Regions from separate parts of the Homo sapiens genome. Here all the other regions are linked to region 5. The links are contacts of gene promoters, found by promoter capture Hi-C in blood cells and fetal thymus (Javierre and others, 2016). All regions are on one chromosome and are shown on one strand. Each heading gives the region's core, a stretch centred on a gene start or on the middle of the fragment in contact. The rest is flanking DNA. Distances are from core to core; before and after follow the strand shown. Region 1 has its middle 50 kb from the start of DRC8. Region 2 overlaps DRC8 (dynein regulatory complex subunit 8). Region 3 overlaps DRC8 (dynein regulatory complex subunit 8). Region 4 overlaps DRC8 (dynein regulatory complex subunit 8). Region 5 holds the start of DESI2 (desumoylating isopeptidase 2).

Evidence for each region. Contacts are between HindIII fragments. The CHiCAGO score rates a contact against its expected background, and 5 or more counts as called.
Region 1: a fragment that was not itself captured here is called in contact with the fragment with the promoter of DESI2 in region 5 in 1 of 17 cell types (activated CD4 T cells); the score reaches 7.2 in activated CD4 T cells.
Region 2: a fragment that was not itself captured here is called in contact with the fragment with the promoter of DESI2 in region 5 in 2 of 17 cell types (naive CD8 T cells and total CD8 T cells); the score reaches 7.5 in naive CD8 T cells.
Region 3: a contact is called between a fragment that was not itself captured here and the fragment with the promoter of DESI2 in region 5, in 2 of 17 cell types (neutrophils and monocytes). The highest score is 8.9, in neutrophils.
Region 4: a contact is called between a fragment that was not itself captured here and the fragment with the promoter of DESI2 in region 5, in 16 of 17 cell types (naive CD8 T cells, activated CD4 T cells, neutrophils and 13 more). The highest score is 11.7, in naive CD8 T cells.

What each region holds. Positions count from the first base shown.
Region 1 is chr1:244,917,408-244,922,273 of GRCh38, reverse strand. No RefSeq gene overlaps it. Among named protein-coding and RNA genes, the nearest start is that of DRC8, 50 kb to the left of the region's middle. RefSeq lists a silencer at 3,271-3,630. The HindIII fragment of the contact is 4,942 bases long and covers 1-4,855 here.
Region 2 is chr1:245,024,938-245,029,974 of GRCh38, reverse strand. All of the region lies in intron 3 of DRC8 (dynein regulatory complex subunit 8), which reads right to left. All of the region lies in intron 1 of LOC107985725 (a long non-coding RNA gene), which reads right to left. Among named protein-coding and RNA genes, the nearest start is that of EFCAB2-AS1, 57 kb to the right of the region's middle. The HindIII fragment of the contact is 4,516 bases long and covers 1,003-5,037 here.
Region 3 is chr1:245,063,465-245,068,265 of GRCh38, reverse strand. The region is part of intron 4 of DRC8 (dynein regulatory complex subunit 8); the gene reads right to left. Among named protein-coding and RNA genes, the nearest start is that of KIF26B, 89 kb to the left of the region's middle. The HindIII fragment of the contact is 7,671 bases long and covers 1-4,801 here.
Region 4 is chr1:245,047,499-245,052,235 of GRCh38, reverse strand. All of the region lies in intron 3 of DRC8 (dynein regulatory complex subunit 8), which reads right to left. Among named protein-coding and RNA genes, the nearest start is that of EFCAB2-AS1, 79 kb to the right of the region's middle. RefSeq lists enhancers at 1-161, 4,705-4,737. The HindIII fragment of the contact is 5,391 bases long and covers 792-4,737 here.
Region 5 is chr1:244,649,520-244,654,424 of GRCh38, reverse strand. It overlaps DESI2 (desumoylating isopeptidase 2), which reads right to left and starts at 1,299. Exons shown (of 5, transcript NM_016076.5): 1 at 1,070-1,299. The coding sequence starts at 1,111. RefSeq lists a silencer at 786-1,555 and enhancers at 1,636-1,795, 2,055-2,628. The HindIII fragment of the contact is 4,542 bases long and covers 754-4,905 here.

The DNA.
Region 1 (4,866 bases), core at 1,135-3,634, 270 kb before region 5:
AGAGAAGAAGTTGGGGTTGAACAGAACCCAGCAGAAGAGAGAGAGGATTCTAGGAAAGAAATGAGAATGGTGTCTAGCGGAAAGGGACCTACTGGACCCAGTGGGTAGAGCAGTAGGATCCACAGGCAACTTCCTTCACAGCCTTACCTCTGACATTTTCAAGTTCAGAAGCGCCCTTCTTGGGCTGCTGATCCAATGCTCTTTCCAATTCAACTTTTTTTTTTTTTTTTTTTTTTTGAGACAGAGTCTCGCCCTGTTGCCCAGGCTGGCCTGGAACTCCTGCGTGATCCTCCCTCCTGAGTAGCTGGGATTACAGGCATGCATCACCCTCTGGCCAATTCAGCTTAAAACAAGAAAGTGCCAACACGGTAGCCTGAGCTTCTGAGTTTAACCCCTTCATCTCCTAAATTAGCTCCTAAGAGATTCAGGGACTGGGAGACTGTATGTCACCGGAAGGTAAAGCAAAATGTGTCTTGTTCATCACCATATCCCAGCGCCTCTAACAGAGACTGCCTCTTGCAGGTGCTCAATAAATGTTTATTAAGGAAGGAAAGAGCCTGCATAGCTAGCTGTCACTGTAGCCCAGTGGTTAATAATGTGAGGGGCAGCAGGGTGGGGTGGAGCCCAAACTCCCAGCTTAACATCTGGCTCTGCCGTGTGCCAGCTGTGTGATCTTACACAGTCACTTCACCTGCCTGTATCTCAACTTTCTCATCTGTAAAATGGGTCCTATGAGAGTATCTTCCTCATAGGGTTATTGTGAGTATTAAATGAATTAATAGACACAAAACACTTAAAACAGGGCTGGCATCTATTAAGAGCTACTTATGTTGCTCTTATCAGTAGACTGGCTCCAAAGCCAGACCACATGGATTGAAGCCTATCTTTGCTGTTTATGAAGAGAGTGGCTTCTCTGAACTTCAGTTTTTCCATTTGTAGTGTGGATATTATACTAACATAATAGTATCTATCTCATAAGACTATTGTAAGGATTAAATGAGTTAAAAGCATACAAAGCACCTAGCACAGGCCCGGAGCATCCCTCGATAATATAAGACAGTTACTCTCCTTGCTTAGTCACTGGGCTTTTCCTCTTACTCCACCACTGCAGCTGGCAGGTGGTAGCACATGTCTGAATTAGGCAAGACTTTATTTATGGAGTTTGTGTAGTTCTACCACTATCAGTTCCTCTTCGGCTTCCTTCTAGGGTAATCTGTACTTTAAAATAAATTTTAGACTTTTTATTATGCAATTTCCAAACATATATAAAACCAGACAGATGAACACAGTGAACCCCCAGGTACCCATCTCCCAGCTTCAATGATTATCCATCATACCACAATTACTTTCTCTCCTTACTGCCACTAGGTTATTTTGAAACAAATTCGAGATACAATTTCATCTATACTATTTCACTATGCGTCTTTAAAATCGAAAGAATATTTTTTAACATAACCACAATCATATTGCCACTCCTACGCATTTTTATAGTAATTCCTGCATATCATCAAAAAGCCAGCCAGCATTCAAATTTCCTTGATTTTCTCATAAATTATTTTATTTTACTTTTGCTTTTTTTTTTTTTTTTGAGATAGGGTCTTGCTCTGTCATTCAGAGTGCAGTGGTGTGATCCTGGCTCACTGCAGCCTCAATCGCCCAGGCTCAAGCAATCCCCCCATCTCAGCCTCCCAAAAAGGTGGTACCACAGGCATGTGCCACCACGCCTGGCTAATTTTTTAATTATTTGTAGAGACAGGGTCTCACTATGTTACCCAGGCTGGTCCTGAACTCCTGGCCCTCAAGCAATCCTTCTGCCCCAGCCTCCCCAAATGCTGGGATTACAGGCATGAATCACTGTGCCCAGCCAAATTATTATTTTTTAATTTATTATTTTTATCATGGTAAAATACACATAACATAAAATTTACCATCTTATTCATTTTTAAGTAAACAGTGGTATTAAATCCATTCATAATGTGCAACCATTACCATCATCCATCTCCTTAACTCTTTTTTTTACAATCTAAAAAAAAAAACAAAAAAATACCAGTATCCAAACAAAGTCCGGATGTTGCTTTTGTCTGAAGTTTCTTGGTCTCTTCTGACCCTAGAGGAGTTTCACGCCCTCCTTCTCTACCCCCTTGCAATCTATTGTTGAAGAAACTGAATGATGCGTGCTGTAGAGTTTCTCACTTTCTAAATTTTGCTGATTTTGCTTCCCCATGATGTCATTTAATATCTTCCTCTGACCCCTGGAATATTACATAGTCTTTCATAATACGTCAAAGACTTCTATGGTTGTGTCAGAAGGCTACAGGAGCCCTGGCTGAAAGTGGGGTATTTGGGCCATCAAATAAATAAGTAAATAAATACTGTAGCATATTAAGACACATCAAGTATGGTAACATCCACCGGTTGAGAGTAATGCTCCAAAAATAGATGGATTGGTCACCTTTGGAGAGTGCTAAGGAAACAACTCTTTATTCCAAAAATAAAGAGTAAGGATCAAGTATTTATTTTGCCCTTCCTGTATGAACTGTATTTAGGGTAGCCAAATAATTGATGGGAAAAGATCCTGCTGATACATGAAAGAAATGATAAATTAAAATATTGCCATTTTGCAACCTCTAATGAAATGAAGTATCTAAGCAATGATTATCAATGGCTGCTGAAACCACAGGTGAAGAGCTGAAGGAGAACTTTATAATGGACATATCGGGTTGACAGGATCCGAGCCCACTGATCAATCTTAACATCCCTGAGAGACACCCCAGCAGGTATGATGCGCACTGGATGTGACACAGTAGGAAGTCTGCAGCCTATGAAACAGACATACCAAAACAAATCTGAATCTGAGCAAGCCTCTCTGTGTAGCTCCCAGCTCGAAGGTAGTTTGTACTTTTTTTTCCAAAATGAGCAAATACTAAATAAAAAGCCAACAAAAATCCTTAGGCACATGTCCAACTGAACACCTCCTCATGGTGAGTGCGGGAAAACAGTCCTAGTCAGTACATTTGGGCCCCCACAGTTATAAAACCATCACATTCCCGAGGTGAGAATAGTTCTGCATATAACAAGTGGAAATTGCAGAGCGGAGGGGGCTTTGGACTTTTGGATGAGCACGGAGAATCTTTGTTTATCCTAATCTACAAGGTAAACTCGTTTCACACATGACACGGCTTTCAAATACATGGCTACTGCGTTCAGGAAAACGGTGTGACAGAGGCAAGCTGGCATCTGACAGCGGAATCATCCGTCAAGAATCCCTGGCGACGTGAGAGAGAGCGGAGGTGGCTCTGACGCGCCCACGCGGCTCGGGTAGTCTCCGCAGCCCCCGCGCGCACGTGGCGCGGTGTGGGTGTGCGCGCCCCCGAGCTGCCGGCTGCGCCGGTGCGCGCAGTTGTCAAGTGGGCTGGTGCCTGTCCCCGCCTGCCTCCCCGGGTCCCCGCCTGCCTGCCCGGGTCCCCGCCTGCCTCCCCGGGTCCCCGCCTGCCTGCCCGGGTCCCCGCCTGCCTCCCCGGGTCCCCGCCTGCCTCCCCGGGTCCCCGCCTGCCTCCCCGGGTCCCGCCGCGTGGTGCCCAGGAAGCGCGGGGCTCCTCGCACACGCTGCCGGCCTCATTATTTCTTTAAACCTGTTCGTATTTATAATCCAATTCCGGAAAACCCAAGACCCATAGGCTTCTCCCTCCCTACGCTCCAGTCTCAAATTCTGCATTCCTGGGTAAAGCCATGTAGATGCGGATCTCATTTTGACAGATAACTAAATTACATATATTTCGAAAACCCGCAACTCTCATAAGATTTTTACCAGCTGGCCACCAGTGCCCAACATATTGCACATTTTGGAGTCGTTTAGTTCTCCACTTTCTACTTACGAGCACTGGTACCTTTTTTTTTCTTTTTTAATTTATTTCAGGGATCACATGAAAAAATATGAATTACAAGGAATGAAATTTCAATACAAAAATGAGTCCTAGATTCTTACCTTAGGTGGACTCTAATTATTATTATTATTATTATTATTATTATTTTTTTTTTTTTTTTTTTTTTTTTTTTTTTTTTGAGACAGGGTCTCGCTCTGTCGCCCAGGCTGGAGTGCAGGGGCGCAATCTCGGCTCACTGCAAGCTCCGCCTCCCGGGTTCACGCCATTCTCCTGCCTCAGCCTCCCGAGTAGCTGGGACTGCAGGCACCCACCACCACGCCCTGCTAATTTTTTGTATTTTTAGTAGAGACGGGGTTTCACCGTGTTAGCCAGGATGGTCTCGATCTCCTGACCTCGTGATCCGCCCGCCTCGGCCTCCCAAAGTGCTGGGATTACAGCGTGAGCCACCGCGCCCGGCCTATTTTTTAACATATAGGAAGATTTCAAAGTCCACTGGATTCTTACTATTTTGCTTTTGAATGCATAAAAGAAACAGCCAAATAACACTTTTCAATAATTTATTTTTAAAAGTTATTTTATTCCTAAACAGTAGAGTTCACATCTTTTTCTGCTAAGTTCTTCCACAAGCTGGCAAAGGATCCAAGATGTAGCCTGGCATTTATCTTTGTTCTCTTTGCCACTCTCATGGAAATATGGTGAATGCAGTCCGTTCTTAACGGTCGTATTTAGCCTCGGTTCTGTGAATTCGATTTTCTTTTCCTTTTTAAAGGCGATAGAGTGGGATCCAATAGACGTTGGAGCTGACTCTGAGCTTTTTTGACTTGTACGTGTCACATCTGAAGGCAAGTTCCCTCGTGCTGGATGAAAGCTAAAAGGCTGGGTGCCCGGTTTACCATCAGCTCAGGGCAGAATAATGATGCGAGGCCTGACATTTAATACACCAGTGATCCCAGATATTGCTGCTGAAAGCTTTCTCCACAAA
Region 2 (5,037 bases), core at 2,011-4,510, 370 kb before region 5:
CAGACAGCCTCTGGCTCCCCACTTTTGAAATCATACAGCAAAATTTGCACTTGATCAAGACAGTCCAATAAGAACAATAGGCTGGGCACAGTGGCTCATGCTTGTGATCCCAGCATTTTGGGAGGCTGAGGCAGGCGGATCACTTGAGGCCAGGAGTTCGAGACCAGCCTGGCCAACATGGTGAAACCCCATCTCTACTAAAAATACAAAAATTGGCCAGGCGTGGTGGCTCCTGCCTGTAATGCCAGCTACTTGGGAGGCTGAGGCAGGAGAATCACTTGAACCCAGGAGATGAAGGTTGCAGTGAGCTGAGGTCACATCATTGCACTCCAGTCCGGGTGACAGAGCGAGATTCCTTTTCCAAAAAAAAAAACAGGGCTGGGCACAGTGGCTCACACCTGTAATCCCAACACTTTGGGAGGGCTGAGATGGGCAGATGACCTGAGGTCAGGAGTTCCAGACCAGCCTGGCCAACATAGTGAAACCCCTTCTCTACTAAAAACACAAAAATTAGCTGAGCATGGTGGCGGGTGCCTGTAATCCCAGCTACTTGGGAGGCTGAGGCAAGAGAATTGCTTGAACCGGGGAGGTGGAGGTTGCAGTGAGCTGAGATCAGGCCACTGCACTCCAGCCTGGGTGACAGAGTGAGGCTCCATCTCAAAAACAAAAACAGACAGATACCTGTAATCCACAGTCAACCAAAGTTGGCCTCCAAAGATACAGAAATGGCCTTCTTTATTAAAACAGCCAGTAATGGGCCCTGAAGAGGGAAGCCTGAATCCAAATGTTATTTTTCTTGTCACAATGCCATTCCTATTAACTCCCATCTGTAAAGCCTGGAACATAGCCTACTGGGATATCTAGGACCGACCCCATGCCCTTTGTGATGTCCTCCAATACATTAACCCTTATGGCATTTATGCCACTTAGCCTAAGCTTGAACTGGAGAGCTACCTCCATTCCAGATCCCCGAACGCTACAGAAAAGCCATAAAAGCAAGCTTCATCACAGATATGACCCCACTCCATGGGAATCATACCATAGTATGAAAGTAAGTAACCATTTCAGTAAAAACAGGGTATAAGAAAATAATATACCTGCATTTCCTTGTGTATGGCTAGAATCTGGAGTGATCCCTAGAAACTAGTATTCTGGTTGCCAATATTTTAGAGGGAACTGGGTGACTGGTGGAAAAGAGTTACAGGGACTTTTCTTTGAATTTTATTCTCTTTGGATTTAAACATGTGAACATATTATCTATTCAAAAACTTTTAAGCTGTAATCCCCTTTCCTGATTGCTCCTTCATATTCTGTAACTGCTCAAGTTCCACTCCTCTCTCTCAAATCTTACTTCCCCCACATCTTTAACAAACTCCTCTTCCAGTCTCGGTCAGAGTGGGTTTCTTCTTTATCCTGCACACCATCCCACTCTCAGAACGTAACTATAATGATTGACATATCTCTTCTCCCAACAAGAAAAAAAATATTCCTCTTTAAGAAAAGGTAAAGATAAAATAAATTGGGCATCCAGGGTTTATTTTTTGGCAGTGCAGGAGAGAAATAAGATCTTTGAAAAGTTCCACACTAATAATTCTAGCCCAGTCACAATTACAGCAGCATCATATTACAAACAACCTACATTTCTAAAATTAGGAAATATGTTAAATTCTAGTATAGTTACACATTGGAACACTTCTTAGCCATGAGAAATGATTGTGTAAATTTATAAGATGTCATTCAAGTAAAAAGTATTCAAGCACAAAAAAAACATGTAAAAGATAAAAGAGGCTCAGCATGGTGGCTGACGCCTCTAATCCCAACACTTTGGGAGGCTGAGCAGGCAGATTGCTTGAGCCCGGAAGTTCAAGCCCAGCCTGGGCAACATAGGGAGACCCTGTCTCTACAAAAACTAAAATTTAGCTGGGTGTGGTAGCGTGTACCTGTGGTCCCAGCTACTCAGGAGGCTGAGGCAGGAGGATCGTGTGAGCCCAGGAGGTCGAGGCTGCAGTTAGCCGTGATGGCACCACTGCATTCCTGCCTGGGTGACAGACGGAGACCCAGTCTCAAAAACATCCATGAGCACTTCCTGAAAAAAAAAAAAAAACTGACAAGAGAATCAACACACAAAAATAAATCAAAGAATTCAAGGATGGAGAAAAAAATGAGAAAATGTGGTTAGTGGTAATTTCATTCAAATATACAAAACTACTAAAATATGTGTGAATACTAAACAAAGTATGAACATTCTACCTTGTCAGTGTAAAAATAAAAATATACCTAAGATAAATTGGGGGTTGGGAGAGAAAACGTAGACAGAATTTTGGAAGTGCTAATGTCCTTATCTTTCACAGCAAGGAATCAACTGACACTTTTTATATTCGAAATAGATAGTTTAAAAAAACACACAAGGACTACAGTCTCTTAATGTTTTTCTCAAAATCTTTTCTGAACTTAAAATAAATATCGTCTCTTATGGCTAACAAACATTTGAGATTCCACAATTTCTTCAACTTAATTTTTTTTCTTTTGTCCCAGTCAAGTAAAATTAAAGTAAGTCCTTCCCACATGAAGATTATATCCTAGATTTTTTCTTCAATATCTTTTTCCTTCCTTTCCTTTCCTCCTTCTTCCTTTCTCATTAATTTCCCACCCTTCTATCCACTTATTTTATTACACAGGGATAGAAAGAGCTCTAGAATAATAGTAGTCTAACATTAAAAATTATTATTTCAGGAAGTAGAATTTGGAATGACTTTAAAAAATTCTCTTTGACTCTTTTCTTTAATCCCAGTTCATCAAAAGGACCATGATAAGAAACCAATTTTTAACAAAGCAACTACAAAGTGAGATGGTAAAGAGATAAGATATAAATCACTCTTTTAAAAATATTTATTTTTATGTGTAGTTGTACAGTATTTCAGAGAAAAGTACAGGAGAAAATACGACAGCCAATACCAAGATTTAACAGATGTTAACATCTTGCCACATTTTCTTCAGAATTTTTTTCCTGACAAGAAAGCATTGCAGAAACAGCTAACATTCCACTCCTCATCCCTTCTCCTTTCATCTTCAGATGCAATCACACCACTATTCTGAGGATAATCCTTATCATTTCCATGCATATATTTGTATTCATAAACAATATTTACTATTATTTTGTGTATTTAAAGTGTATATATATGGTACTATGTTTCCGTCCTTTTGTAATTTTTTAAATTCAACGTTGTTTTTTGAGATTTATCCAAGTTACACATGTAGTCTTAGTTCATCATTCACTTCATTCATACATGTGAACAATCACTGCATGAATAAACCTGTTTTTACAATTCATTTCTTATTGAGGGGTGTGTGGACCCAGCAATTCCCATTCCTCTTCCATGTTTTTCCATTGCACAAATGCAGACCCAGTATCGATAACAGTTTTTATAAAGCTCTCTGAGTAGCTTCCAGCTTTCTCAGATAATAACTGTCTTGGGGGAACTGTCCATGCAATCTCTCCACATTGCTCACACTTTCTACTACCTGATAAACATGAATTGCGAAATGTTATTTTAATATCTCTTCAAAACAGCACTATATGTGAAGAAGTAAAAGTAATATTTATGGTACCTCCAGTGCTCCTAGGAAAAGTTATTTCTAATCCATTACAAATAAGTTATTGTTACTATTTCTTACAGAATTTTAGACAGGACCTAGTACACTCAAGGTTCCTGCCAATTGCTAACGAAGCTGAAGTCTCCCTATCAGTAAAAGAAATAAATATTGGATACCAAGAGCCTCAGAGACTTATACTGAGTTGAAGATGGAAGCAATGAAAAAAGAGACTCACTGTATTAGCAAGTGGATACTTGGTGCTGCTGGACTGCAAAATTTGTCTAAAGATTAAGAAAATATTAGGGAAAATCTCCTATAGATAGGGCAGGTATAAAGTAAACACAGTGTACTAGTCCATTCTCATACCACTAATACTGCTATGAAGAAATACCCGAGACTGGGTAATTTATAAAGAAAAAGAGGCTTCATGGATTCACAGTTCCACATGGCTGGGGAGGCCTCACAATCATGGTGGAAGGCGAAGGAGGAGCAGAGGCACATCTTACATGGCGGCAGGAAAGAGACCGTCTGCAGGGGAGCTGCCCTTTATAAAATCATCTGATTCACTACCACAAGAACAGCATGGGAAAAACCTGCCCCTATGATTCAATTACCTCTTACCGGGTCCCTCCCACAACATGTGGGGATAATGGCAGCGACAATTCAAGATGAGATCTGGGTGGGGACACAGTGAAACCATATCACACAGAATAGTCTGGAATACTAAAAATAAGGTCGCACTGTAAAGGCATTGAAGCATAGGAACAGGACAGATGGGTGTGGCTTGGGAAAGGGGAAAGATTGGCACTTTTATTCCAGGATTGGGCCCCATCTCATTTTAGCTCACCAAATTCTTGAGTATCAACCTGTTCTGAAATTGATTAGAATGGAGTGTTAAAAAAAGTAAGTTGATATTTTTTATTTGATATTCTTATACTCTTGTGGCTTAAGTGGTGCTGGCATTTTTATTTCAATTTTATAGATAAGGAAAATGAAATAAAAAGAGGGTGACACATAGAAAATGCATGATAGAGCCAGCAACTGTCTCTACGGACTTGTGGTGTACTTTTATTCCATTAGATTACAAAAAAACTGGATTTGTTTGTGAATAAGATTAGAGTCATTTTCAAATTAAATTTATCAGCTACATGGAAAAATTATCTTCTTTACCTTAGAGGCACTCCTTGTGGGTGTATTTTGTCCCCACCAAATTAGCTTTATTTAGGGGAACCTAAATTTATTCTACTAAAACTACTCGAAATGACATTCGTTTGTTTCCAAAAATTAAATCCATACTCCAAAGGTGTGTAATTTGACTAAATTAAAAAAAAAAATCTGCATGCCAGAAAGTAAAAGTAGAGTGAAAAGATAGATGACAGACACATCATGACTAAGGCTGAGACCTTTCATATAGAAAAAGATCAATAATTCAGTGGGAAGAAA
Region 3 (4,801 bases), core at 2,006-4,505, 410 kb before region 5:
AATAAAACCGTATTTATTAGTCTATTGCCGTGATTGTTTCTGTTCTATATAAAAACACGTTTTATTTATCTAATAAAGAAAAAACCACTTTTGAAGATTTCCCTGGGTCACGTTTTCCCGCTGCTGATCATGGCTTTGGCATCGTTAAATGTTTTCCTACCAATTACAAATAAGCAATACTCTCAGTATATGCTTTTTACAATATATTCTCCTCATTGCCCCAAATTTACCTGATGCTACTCGAAGTAATGGCTGGATGGTAGCCATTACTAACTAATCTGCAAAGTACCATCAGCTCTATAATTAAATTCCAGCATCTAACATAAATAAAAATTAGAGCAGATCAATTCCATTCTCCCCCATCTCCCAAAGGCAGGATGTGTAGGAACAATAACAGATAAAACATTTCATATCACCAACTACTTCAAAATAAGAACATAATTACTCCCACCCTTTCTCATTCTCTGAGAAACTTGATACAGTCAAATTCCAAACGATGTAAAGTCCCAGGGCTCTTCCAGAAGCTCAATGATAGAGTCCAGGCACAGGCTGATAGAAATTCCCACTTCACCAGGGTGTAGATTACGTGGATCTTGTTCTACTAACTCAAAAGCCAATTCCGAAGTTTCAAAGAAAAAAAATCCAAGGATACTTAACCAATTAAGAATAATGAAAGATGGAGATTTGGGACCTCCGGGGCTTGTGGTATGCCTGGAGTAGTATGATACTTTCCATCCAAGATGAAAAGTGTAGGAAATGATTCACTAGTGTCATTACATTATTTTAACTGGTTACTGGGGAGTATTTATCACACTTTGACATCATAGTTGTCTCAACACTATAAATGTAACATTAAACCACTGACCACAGATATAAAAAAAACTGTAACATTTGTTTATGGGTTTCCTCACTTAGCGAAATGAGTAGGGACTGAATACCATCTCAAATATTTAAAAATGCATGTATTGGGCCAGGCGTGGTCATGTTGGCCGGCACCTGTAATCCCAGCTACTCAGGTGGCTGAGGCAAGAGAATCACTTGAACCTGGGAGGTGGAGGTTGCAGTGAGCCGAGATCATGCCACTGCACTCCAACCTGGGCGACAAAGTGAGACTCTGTCTGAAAAATAAGTAAATAAGTAAATAAATGCCATTGCAGTCATTCATGGAGAAATGACAAGGCTTGGACTAAGGTGATGGATGTGGAAATGATGAGAAAGTTAAATTTATAATGTGAAGGTAGAGATGGCAGAAATGTGTTGATGTATTATAATATCGGATTTTTCCAGAAGTCCAATTTCAATTTCTTGTCACTGGTGAGTTTAATCCAGTTGCATTTATTATGATTTTTTTTTCTTTTTGAGATGGAGTCTCACTCTGTCACCCAGGCTGGAGTGCACTGGCGCAATCTCGGCTCACTGCAAGCTCCGCCTCCCGGGTTCACGCCATTCTCCTGCCTCAGCCTCCCGAGTAGCTGGGACTACAGGTGCCCGCCACCAAGCCCGGCTAATTTTTTCTACTTTTAGTAGAGATGGGGTTTCACCATGTTAGCCAGGATGGTCTCAGTCTCCTGACCTTATGATCCGCCCACCTCGGCCTCCCAAAGTGCTGGGATTACAGGTGTGAGCCACCATGCCTGGCCTATTATGATTATAAGTACCATTATCTTATGTTTTCTAGATACTCTGATTATTCTATGCTTCTTTTCTGTCTTTTTGGACTGACAGAATGCCCTCTAATTCTTTTATCCTCTATATCAGTTTGGAAGTTATGCATTCACTTTATACTCTTTTGTAGTTACACTTAATATTTACACATGCATACTTAATTCACTCCAATGTATTACATCTTATATGCTATAATTATCAGTGCTTTAGTCCCAACATTTACTAATGCTCTCTTTCTAAAGACTATTACAATGTCTCATCTAGATTTACATTATTAATACTTTTCTCAGGAGTACTGTTGCTATTTTCTGACTAATCAAATATCAATGAAACTTCTGTGTTAAGGAGGCAAACTGTATATCTGCATCTAACTTTACTCTCTCTCAAACCTTATTAAAATTGCAGTAAAGAAACATTTGTTAAAATAATCATACACCTACTTAGGAAGAATAGGAAAAAATATAATGGGAATAAAATTTTGGAAGCTGAGAAGTAGATGGATGAGTGGCAATAATCTAGTAGATCTAGAAAACTGAACCCAAGACAGTAGTGAGTAAAGAATCCTCAAAAAGCATTGGTTGCTTCTGGAAATGAGGATGAGGGACCAGGAACTAAAATTAGGGGAACTAGGGTAAAATATGTTTGAAAAGCTGTAAATTCCCTCTCAGTTTTCCCCACTAAGTGACTGCCTGCCCTCCATCCCTGCAGGAGTTTCGAGATTTACCTTCTAAAGAGTGTAAACAGAAGGTGTCCGAACTGGCAGCTAGACGCTTTTGCCTCCCAAGCAGAAGACTGAACACTCTATTCCAAAGAATCAAGCCTGCACGACAGAAAAATCCCCAACACTCCGATGCGGGTGATTCCCAGATTACCCAGTGATGAAGTTTAAAGTTGACAAGTTCCATGCATGTGTTTGTTAGGAACTGACAGCCAAGGTTTATCAGACACTGAGGAAAGCTACTAACAAAAACAAAGACCAGAACAGACACAGGTATCAACTTGGAGAAAACAGATTATGCAAAGAGAAGAAAACTTCAAATAAAGTAACACTATTATCTTCAGAGATCTGAAACAAGAACAGGATGCTATTTAAAAAAGAACATTCAAAGAACAAAAACAAGCTACTGGAAATTTAAAACACAACAGAAATGAGAAACTCAATAAAAATATTGGAAGACAAAGTTCAAGAAATCTACCAGAGAGAACACAGAGACAGAGATGGAAAATAAGTGAAAAATAAGAATATTAGGCTGGGCGCGGTGGCTCATACCTATAATCCGAGCACTTTGGGAGGCCGAGGCGGGCAGATCACTTGAGGTCAGGCGTTCAAGACCAGCCTGGCCAACATGGTGAAATGCCATCTCTACTGAAAATACAAAAATTAGCCGGGCGTGATGGCATGCGCCTGTAATTTGGGAGGCCAAGGCAGGTAGATCATTTGAGGTCAGGTGTTCAAGACCAGCCTGGCAAACATGGTAAAAACCCTGTCTCTACTAAAAATACAAAAAAAAAAAAAAAAAAAAAAAAGAAGAATGTTAAAGACTAGTCCAGTCCAGAAACACAAAAATGAATAATAGGAGTTCCAAAAAACAGAAAAAAGAAAACAAAATAATTGCAAGAAAACTTCCTGGAACCAAAAAATACAAGTCACTAGTTTGAAAAGGCCCACCAGGTACCTAACACATTAGATATGTGTTTACACCAACGTAAATCTTTGTGAAATTTCAAACTCTGGGGAAAAAAAACTGTCCAGAGTTTCAGGAAAAAAAAAATTAATGTTTATATACAAAGGATTGGGAACCAGAATGGATTTGCACTATCTCAATAGCATTACCAGGAACATGAAGATGAGCAGTGCCTTCAGAACTCTTACTGAAGACCTGAAAAATCCAAATCCATTTAATGAAGAAAAATCCATTGAATGTAGAATTCTATTTCCAGCCAAAGATTAGCATAATCACTTTCAAACATACAAATCTCAAAAATTTTACCCCCAAGGCACTCTTTCCCAAGAAGTTATCAAATAATATGTTAAAATGCTAGAGGAACTAGAAAGAGGAAAACTTGGGATAGAAAGAAGTCCAACCCAGAAGGAAAACAGTGACTCCCAGAAATATCACAAAGATCCCAGAATGATGGCTGTGCACAGATGTCGAGGTCAACCATCATATGTAAAGGGACAGTTTTGTTAAGAACTATCATTACCATGGTCTCCCTGCCATGGTATCCTCTTTTGATCCAAGAACAGAATTCCAGGATAAGCCTGGCCCAGTTCTTATCACTGACCTATCTTTACTATGTGCTGGTCAAGTTTCTGCTCACTCTTGCCCCACTCCTTGGATCTGATGAGGACCTTCATTTCATTCCTAAGTAGTTTTATGCTTTGATCTAATCCTGAAAGCCAGGGGTAGGCCCTAGTGAGTTTAGAAATAAAATATATAGAGCAGCCAACTCCTTTTGGTCATATTCTACTGGACACTTAACACCTGATTCGCATTACAGCTCTTCCAGACGACAACTATGGCAGCCATGAAAATTCAATTTTCTTTCTCTTTTTTTAAAAAAAAGTTGAGATCTGGGCCGGGCGTGGTTGGTCACGCCTGTAATCCCAGCACTTTGGGAGGCCGAGGAGGGCGGATCACCTGAGGTCAGGAGTTCGAGACCAGCCTGGCCGACATGGTGAAACCCCGTCTCTACTAAAAATATAAAAATTAGCCGGGTGTGGTGGTGCGTGCCTGTAACCCCCAGCTACTCGGGAGGCTGAGGCAGGAGAATCACCTGAAGCCAGGAGGCAGAGGTTGCAGTGAGCCGAGATTGTGCCACTGCACTCCAGCCCGGGCGACAGAGTCAGACTCCATCTCAAAAAAAAGAGTTGAGATCTGGCTCTGTTACCCAGGCTGCAGAGCAGTGGGCCACCATTGTGCCTCATTCCTGAGCTCAAGCAATCCTCTCACCTCAGCCTCCCAATGAAATGCACCTCTTAAATCTACAGTTGCAGGAAATGTAATTGAATGATGATCCTAGCCATCATATTTGAGCCAAGGCCATCCATCCAATGGGCTGCTCCAGGCAATAATGAAGTGTTAAATCCCAGCATAATCTGGCTGAGGAAGTGCTGGGCCTAATAAGGAAAGAA
Region 4 (4,737 bases), core at 2,238-4,737, 400 kb before region 5:
GCCTATGACAAATTCACCCCCATCCAACATCAAATCTGTCCTGGGTGTTGCCTAACAATCCGCTCAGTCGTCTGTTGACTTCCTGGCAAACTCCCTCAAAACAGCTATTCTGCAGCATCTCTTGCCTCAAGCTCCAAAGTACTCCCTCCCTTCATCTCAGAAAACGTCCTTATCACCCACTTCCCTCCCTTCATCTCAGAAAACGTCCTTATCACCCACTGCACTCAACAGATGTGAACTGCACGATCACTGGGTGCTATTATTAATCCTCACGTCACCTTTACAGTCGCTGACTTTGTACCACTTTAGAGGAATGTCCTATAGCTCTTGCCTCGTGCTCGTAGCCTTGGAGAAATAAAAAGTGCTCCTCCTCAAAGAAGCAAATCTCCCTCTTAGTTTTTCGTTTCCACACTCAGCTCTTGTTCTTCACACAATTACCTCTCCCTCTCAGCATCTTCATTATTTTCTTTATTAGCTGTTTCCTCTTTTGCCTTAAAATATTCAGGTATCTTCCTTATCTTGAAAAAACTTGATAGGTGCTTCGCCACTCTATTCTATTTCCCGGCTTCCTTTCACTAATCACAACACTTCTTCTAAATGGCTTATCTTGTAACCGCCAGCTTCATTTCGCAACATCCACCCCATGCCTCACCGCGCTGCAGAATCCTGCCATCGGTAGCTCTCCACTGCTCAGCCAATCAGCCAGTGTCTCCCTCCCACTCCCTCCCTTCCCTCCTCATCTCCACTTCCCTTTCTCCAATAACCTCCTTACTGTCCCCTACCCCCAAGCTTCTGGCTGCAAAATAATATCGATGGTTTTGTCTTCCTTTTGGGTGGGGGGGATTGAGGAGATGGGGTCTGCTCTGTTACCCAGGCTGGAGAAGTGGCACGATCACACTCACTACATACTCAAACTCCTGGGCTCAAGCGATTCTCCTGCTTCAGCCTTCCGAGCAACTGAGACTACAAGTACACACCATCATGCCCAGCTGATTTTTTTTTTTTCTTAATAGAGACAGAGTCTTGCTATGTTGCCCAGGCTGGTCTTGAACTCCTGGGATCAAGCAATCCTCCTACCTCAGCCTCCCAAAGTAGTGGGATTACAGGCATGAGCCTGGCCAGGTTGCTACAGTTTAAAGTATTACAGAAGGTGGCCTGGACAACATGGCAAGTCCCCATCTCTACCAAAAATTTTTTAAAAATTATTGGGGTATGGTGGCGCATGCCTGTAGTCCCAGCTACTTGGGGGAGGATTGCTTGAGCCCAGGAGGTTGAGGCTGCAGTGAACCGAGATCGTGGCACTGCACTCCAGCCTAGGCAACAGAGTGAAACCCTGTCTCAAAGTAAAAAAATAAAATATTTCAGAAGGCTAAGAGAATAAGCAGAATCTTAGATCTGGACAAAAAGAAGAGGACTGACCTCAATAAGAGCACTTGCAGAGGAGAAAAAGAGGAAGAAAAAACTCCAAAAAAGAGCCAGCAAAAAGAAAATTGAGATCACAAGTATAGAGTACACCGTGGAGGAATATGGCTATTAAAGAGAATGATGCACATCCTACCCAATAGCTGAGAGTTCCACAGCACTTACTGTGTGCCAGGGACTGTCCTGACACAGTAATCCCTACATTAACTCACTGAACCCTCACAACAACTAGGAGGTAGGTACTATTATTGTCCCCACTTTACAGATAGAAAACTAAAGCTCAAAGACATTAAATAACTTGTCAGGGATCACGTAGAGTTAATATTCAAGCAGTGACCCCCTCAGCACTAGGGAAATATAGGAGAGAGCTGGGGAGAAGTCTGACAAGAAGGATGAGTAGAAAACGGGGATGAGGGCTGGGCGCGGTGGGTCACGCCTGTTATCCCAGGAGTTTGGGAAGCCAAGGTGGGCAGATCACCTGAGGTCAGGAGTTCGAGACCAGCCTGGCCAGCATGGTGAAACCCCATCTCTACTAACAAGAGCGAAAATCCGTCTAATAAAAAAAGGGAAAAGAAAAAAGAAAAAAAAGACAACGGGGATAAGAACAAAAGAAAGTCACTCCCAATGGGAGAAAAGTAGATTAAGTAGCTTTCTGGCTCAAGAATGAACATCTTCTCTAGGTCTTCCAGGAGGAACAGTCCTCACATCCCTCTCCCCTTATACCAGGATCATGATCTGCATGGATGTGATGGCCTCTAGCCATCAGGTTCGTCTTCGCAGAATCCAGTTCTACAGTGACTTATTACGCGTGCCAGACTCTGGTGTAAGGTGCTTTAAATATTCTTCCTCACTTCTTCCTCATGACAGCTTTGTGTGAAAGGTACTATTTTACAGATGAGGAAAAGTGAACCACAGAAAGGTTAAGACATTTTCCCAAGATCACACCGGTAGCAAATGGTGGAAACGGGATTCACACACACAGCCTAGCTCTCATGCTACCTGCCACTGCGACTGCTGCCTCTCACAAATCTCAGTCAAGCACTTGGACTTAAAGGAGAACTTCTGAACTATACCACAGTGCTTCCAAAGAAAGCTGTGGATATTCCACCCCACGGGAGCTTTGACCGTAGATCCAGGGCCGCAAATTGTTGACCCAAGTGACAAATTTGGCCATCGGGTATTTTTGTTGTTGTTGTTGTTGATGATTTTTTCTTATTACAGTTTTTTTTTAGTCTAGGATTGGCGTGTTTATTTGTTTAGGTGGGGCATACATACATGTCATGAGTACAGTATGAACTCTGTCAGATTCTCACTTTTATATCACAGGCTGGCCCCCATAAGAATTTCGGTCTATCACTCCCAGAAAATATCAGTTTTGTACTGTTTAGAAATGCACCTGCAAGAAGCAGAGGAATGAGCCAAATGACACCTTAACCCAAGTGATCTGACTCTAAGGTTATTTTTAAGAGCACACACAGACACTGTGGCTTATGTAAGAGAATGTTCTTGTCTTAGAAGACCTACACTGAGGCTGGGCACGGTGGCTCATGCCTGTAATCCCAGCACTCTGGGAGGCCGAGGTGGGTGGATCACTTGAGGCCAGGAGTTGGAGACCAGCCTGGCCCACATGGCAAAACTTTGTCTCTACTAGAAATACAAAAATTAGCCAGCTGTAGTGGTACACACCTGTAAGTCCAGCTACTCGAGAGGCTGAGGCATGAGAATCACTTGAACCTGGGAGGTGGAGGTTGCGTGAGTCGAGATCGAGCTACTGCACTCCCATCTGGGTGATGGAGTGGGACTCTGTCTCAAAAAAAAAAAAAAAAAGAAAAGAAAAAGAAAGAAAGGAAGACCCCAGCGGTGCACACCTATAGTCCCAGCTACTTGGGAAACTGGGGTGGGAGGACCACTTGAGCCCAGGAGTTCATGTCCATTTCCCACCTGGACAATATAGCAAGACACCTTTCTCCAAAAAGAAAGAAAGAAAGAAAGAAGATCCACAGTGAAGCATTTCAGGGAAAGGTTACAATGTTTACAGTTTACTCTCAAATAGTCTAGCAAAATGGTGATGATGAAAATAACAATAATAATAAAATGTATAAATAGGTATGTGTGTTTGTGCATATATAGAGAGAAACGGGGGAGAGAGGGAGAAGGAGAAAGAGGAGGCAAAAACAAATGTGGCAGATCATGAGGGATTGGCGAATCTAAGTAAAAGTGTGCAGGAGTTCAGGGCAACACTCTTACCGTTTAGAAGTTTGAAATTTTTTAAATAAAAAGATTTTATTTAAAAAAAAAACAAGATAAGCACATTTCACTCTCATCCATCAAAACCACAGTAATAACAAAGGATAACAGAAACCCTGCCTCATATACATAAACTACTTATACAACAATTTACTCTGGTGTTATACTATCTGTATCACTTTGGCTTCAGAAGCTGGTTATGAAGGATGTCTTAATCCTCAGTTTCATAACAAAATATATTAGTTACAACATTTTCACTCAGTACTTCAGAAACTTGGAGACCCTGGATAGACCTAAAATATTGTTTCCTGAAGTAAAAGTTGAGATGAGGCTGTGTATCAGCCTACCATTCCTTGCAGGTAAAAGAAAGGCACAGTGGACCCTTCAACAACATGGTGTGAACAACACAAGCCCACTTAGATGTGGATTTTCTCCTGCCTCTGCCACTCGAAACAAGACCAACCCCTCTTCCTCCTCCTCCTCCTCCTCAGCCTCCTCCATGTGAAGATGATAATCAAGACCTTTATGATGATCCACCTCCTCTTAAGGAGGAGTAAATATATTTTCTCTTCCTTTTTTTTTTTTTTTTTTTGAGACAGAGTCCAGCTCTCTCACCCAGGCTGGAGTGCAGTGGCACCATCTCAGCTCACTGCAACCTCCGCCTCTGGGGTTCAAGCGATTCCCCTGCCGCAGCCTCTCAAATAAGAGATTACAGGTACGTGTCACCATGTTCCACTAAGTTTATTTTTTTATTTTTAGTAGAGACGAGGTTTCACCATGTTGGCCAAGCTAGTCTCAAACTCCTGACCTCAAGTGATCCACCTGCTTTGGCCTTCCAAAGTGCCAGTGCTGGGATTGCAGGCATGAGCCACTGCACCAGCCCCTTATGATTTTCTTAATAACATTTTCTTTTTCGTTTTTTTTTTTTTTTGGAGATGGAGTCTAGCTCTCTCGACCAGGCTGGAGTGCCGTGGCACCATCTCAGCTCTCTACAACCTCCACCTCCCAGGTTCAAGCGATTCTCCTGCCTCAGCCTCCTAAGTAGCTGGAATTACAGGCGCCCGCCAC
Region 5 (4,905 bases), core at 50-2,549:
TAATACAAGGGAATACAAAGTTTAGAACTGTATAAGACTCTTGGCCTGTAGTATTTCTGCTCTCCTGCATCTTTAAGCCAACAAAAATAACGACGGGCAATTTTTCATTTGTCAGTCAACTTACAAGGAATTTTAAGCACTGCAGTCAGAGGTACTAATCCAGTCTACAGAACAAAAACCCATTCTACAGAACAAAGCAAGCAAACACACCCAAACATGCATCTAACTGCAACGACAATTCTCTACCGGGTGCTTTTTTCTGGGGGCATTTCACTGCAAAAATCAGGCAAACCAGTTCTTGGACTCGATTCTGCGTGCTTGCCATACTCCAAAGTTAGATGATACAATAAACAACTTCTTCCCTTCCCTCTCCCGTGGTCACGTCACCTGTTGCATCACCTGGAAAGTGGTCTTCAGAGTGTAGGAAAGGAGCACCACCAGGATCTCTAAATAATTCAGCTGGGCTATTTTCTTGAGAAATGTTAGCCTCATTCATATTTTAACGAGGTTGCCTTTAACACACAAGGAAAGGGTGTGTTGGCTCCTGTTCACCTTTGAAGAGATTCTAGCACAGGCACCCGAAAGCTGTGACCTTCTGGACTTAGAGGGGCTTGGGAGTTTCTGAAGACGTAGCCATGGAGAGAGACGGACAGTTCGGCAGAAGCAGAGGAGCTGGGAGCGCAGGCGGTCGGGACGGGGGTCCCGGGGCAGCCCCGGGGGCCGGCAAGTGGGGTTGGAAACGCAACGGAAGCTTTGCCGAAAGGACACTGCACGTCGGCCAAGGGGTCGGGCCCAGAGCCGGGGTCGGGTCCAAGCTGAGCGGATGGGAGAGGTTCAAGCCCACCCGAGCTTTGGCCAAAACCCTCGGGCTGACTGGGTTCACCGGAGCGTCGACGAGTGCGAGGATTAAAAAATAACAATACTCCCTCCTTCACCCCCGGCTTCCCCCGAGAACTAGGCTGGAGGCGGAGACGCCAGGCAGGAAGCGCCTGGGGCCGGGGTCCGAGCCCCACGGGCGAGAGGAAGCCGGCCTGGGCCAGGGCTCGGGGCCGCCAGGGGCCGCACTCACCATGTCGTACACGTTGAGCACCACTAACTGGTTAGCCCCCATCCTCCTCCCCGCGGCCGCCGCCTCGTCCTCAAGCCGCTCCGTCTCCGCGGGGCCGGAGGCCGCTCTCACCCCCGCGGGCGCTTCAGGGGGCCTGAGCCGGGCACTAAGCGTACAGCCCGGCCCGCGGCAGCCGGGGCGGAAGCATCGGGCAGCCGAGCCGCTCCCGGGCGCCGCCGACAGGAGCGTCTGTGCGGACGGGGCCGGACCGTTGGCGGCCCGCTCCGGATGAGGCACCTCCCCTAGGCGGCAGACACGTGGGGAAAGGCGGGGCTTGAGCAAGGGGCGGGCGCCAGGCGCCCCGGGGGCGGGGCCGGCCCGGCGCCAGGACTGAGCCCGCCTGCGCTCTGGTTCTCGGCCGGCGCACCTCGGGACCTAAAATGGCGGCAACTCCGGCGCCTCCGCGTCCTGGAGGAACGGGGACCCAGGAAGACTACAGTTCCCAGCATGCAGTGAGGATTCCCCCTTGCTACTATAAGTGCAGAGGCGGAGTCTCAACAGCCCTTCGACTACAACTCCCTGCATGCCGCGGGGGCCCCGGTCCTACCAGACCAGGCCTCCCCGGGAGACTACAACTCCCAGCATGCAGTGCTTTAGAGCTGCGGCAGATCCCTTGCCGCCCGCGGGCGGTGAAATCTCCTACCTTCATTCACCCTCTCATCTCAGGTGCTGCTGCTGTTAGTAGTTCATGTTGCGTTGAGCTCGATGAAGCCAGCGAAATGTGGCAAAAGACCAGAGTGATGACCCTAAGTTTTCCAAATGCTTCCTCACCTTTTATTTGGCAAGGGGAGTGGTGGGGAAATAGAGGAAGACGAGTTACTGGTGTGGGATGAGGTGTAACGTGCATCCAATTAATCCTCAATGTGGAATTTACATTTTGTGAAACTATCCTGCTGAGATGGGAAGGGTACAGTAACCGTAGCTTAGCACAATCCTGGGACGTAGTATGCAGCTCTGCATTAATTCAACAAATGTTTGTTATGTGCTTCCTATGTGCCAGGCAGTGTTGTAGGCCCTCGGGAATGCCGTGATAAACAGGAACAGGGACATACAAAATATCACTGGTATGTGCTTTGCAGAAAATTTAAGTAAGGTGAAGTCATTCTTAAATTGGCTGCACGGGGAAGATCGCTGTAATGAGTTTTAAGCTGAAATGTGAATGACAAAGCCAGCCCCGCAGATATGAGGGGGAGGAGTATTTCAGTCAAAGGGAACAAATGCAAAGATCTGAAGCATGAAGGAGTTTTCTGTATTCAAGGAAACAAAAGATCACTCTTGCTGGGACACAGTAGGCAAGGAGTCGACGGTACTAGATGAGCTGGGCAGGTAGGCAGAGGCCAGATCCCGGAAGGATTTTAAAATTCATAACAGGGGTTGTATTTTAAACGAAGCCATAAGTTTGGACCAGGGAGTGAAATGAGTGTGCGTGTGTTTAAAAATGATTACTTGGGTTGCTGTGTGGAAAATGGATTTCAGAGAGGCAAAGGAGGTGGAAATAGGGAGATGAGTGTGGCAGATTGTGAAAATAGCCACAAATTATTTCCAGTCTCCCAAATTATACTCTTTGGTGGTGTCTACCCCCACTGACTGCACTGGACTGTGACTTGCTGTGGACGTGGGACATTAACATCGTGCAAGCAGAGGCTTAAAAAACACTTGTGAGTTGGGGCTTGCCCTCTTGCTGAACTTGGGAGTCCTGTGACCACCATTTTAGGAATGAGTGTGGGCTAGCCTGATGGATGATGAGGGACACGTGGTCAAGTCACGGCCCACATCCAGCTGACAACCAACCAACTGCGAACATGTGAAGCTCTCCCGGACTATCCTTCCCTGGCCACAACCACATGGATCGGACGAACTGACCAGCCAACCCACAGAATGTGAGAAATAATGTTTTAAGTCACAAAGTTTTGGGGGTGGTTATGTGGCAAAAGTTAATCAAGTCCACCAATTGGATGCTGTTCCAGAAGTGCATGCCAGCAAGTGGCTTCGTTGTGGCTGATAGTGGTGGAGACCGAAATAATTAGAGTTTAAATATTTTGGAGTAAAGTCTGTGGAACTTGCTAATGGGTTAGATGTTGAGTTGGTTAGGGAGAGAGGATTCGAGAATAACTTCTAGATTTTTGACTTGGGGAACTGAGTGGATAGTCCTGGCACTTCTAAGATGTGAAACATTTTGGGGAGGAGCAGGCTGGGGGTAGGGAAATCAAGAGCTATGGTTTGGTCATGCTAAGTTTGAGATGCCTTTTAGACATCCATGACTGCCAAGTAGTAGACATTTGAATAAACTGGAGTCATGGCCATTTATAGACTTGGGGCTTGGTTGGATGACCTAGGAATATGTGTAGCTAAAAAGAAGTGGGCCAAGAACAAAGCTCTAGGACCCTTCACCATGTAGAGGTCAAGTAAAGTATGAAGAGGAAGCACGGAGGCAGGAGGAAAATCAGAAAGAACATGATAACATTGATGTCAAGACTATTGGATTCAGCAATATAGAAATCACTGGTAGCTTTGATGTGAGCGGTCTCTGGGAGGAGTGAGATTTAAATAACTGCTTTAACAGTTTGAGAAGCAAATGTAAGGTGACAAAAGGGAGACAACTTAACTTGGGGGCAACAGCTGGATAAGGCGGTGTGGTCAATGGAGGGCATTTTGAAGATGGGAGATGCTGAGGCATACTTGCATGTAAAGGGAGAAAAATTGATATAGGAGAGGGAAAGATTTGCAAGGGCAAAGAAGGGAGAGGGATCCAGGACACAAGTTAATGGTTGCTGTTTAGTAGGGGGGATGCTTCATCTGTAGTGATGGCATAGAAGGCAGATGCAGGTGCACAGTTACGGCATAGAAGGCACGGAGACGGGTAGGCAGGTTAGAAATACGGGAGTGTAGGAAATGAGGGTGTTTATTCCTGATTTACTTTTACTTTCTCAGTGAATTATGAGGCAAGAATGTCTTCAAAGAGTAAGACGTGAGGAGAGGGGCATAGGGAGTTTGGAGAGACAGAAGGTGATGTAAAATAGAGGAAATAAGTAAACTTGGAAAATATGGTTTGTCAGGTAGTGTTGGGGGACAGTAAATGCTGTGCACATCATTACTTGACTGTCCTCTGGAAGGTTGTTGACAAAGTTCTAAAACCTGTTTTTGGTGCATCAGCTGCCTTGCTTCTCTTTCCTCCCATGGTGTTCCTCCCCACCTTAAGCAATTACAAACTACGTAATCACATCTGCTAAGCCCTTTTTCCTGTGAAAGGTGGGGAAAAGGCACTGTGCATTTGCACCTTATTTAGTCCTGGCTGCAGTCCCCATAGATTCACTTTAACTCTTACTGTACACACTCCCTTTGCCCTTTGTGATCTCATCCACTCTCAGCTGTAACTGTTGCATGTATACTGAAGAGCCGCATGTCTCCATCTTCGGTGCTCTTCTCTCTCCAGAGTGCTAGGCCAGTATAACCTACAGCCTCTTGGACTTCTCTAACAGGATGTGTTGGTTTCCCTTGGCTGCAAATTGCCACAAACTTAGTGGTTTAAAATAACACAAACTTATTTTCTTATAGTTCTAGAGATCAGAAGTCCAAAATGGGTCTCCCTGGGTTAACATCAAGGGCTGTGTTCCTTCTGGAGACTCTAGGGGACAATCTGCTTCCTTGCTTTCCCAGGTTCTAGAGGCTGCCCTCATTCCTTGGCTCATGGCTCATGGCCCCGTCACTCCAGTGCCCACCCCCCACCCCACACGCCATTTCCATCATCATGTCTTCTCTGACTCCCTTATTTCTCCTTCTTACTTATGAAGAGCCTT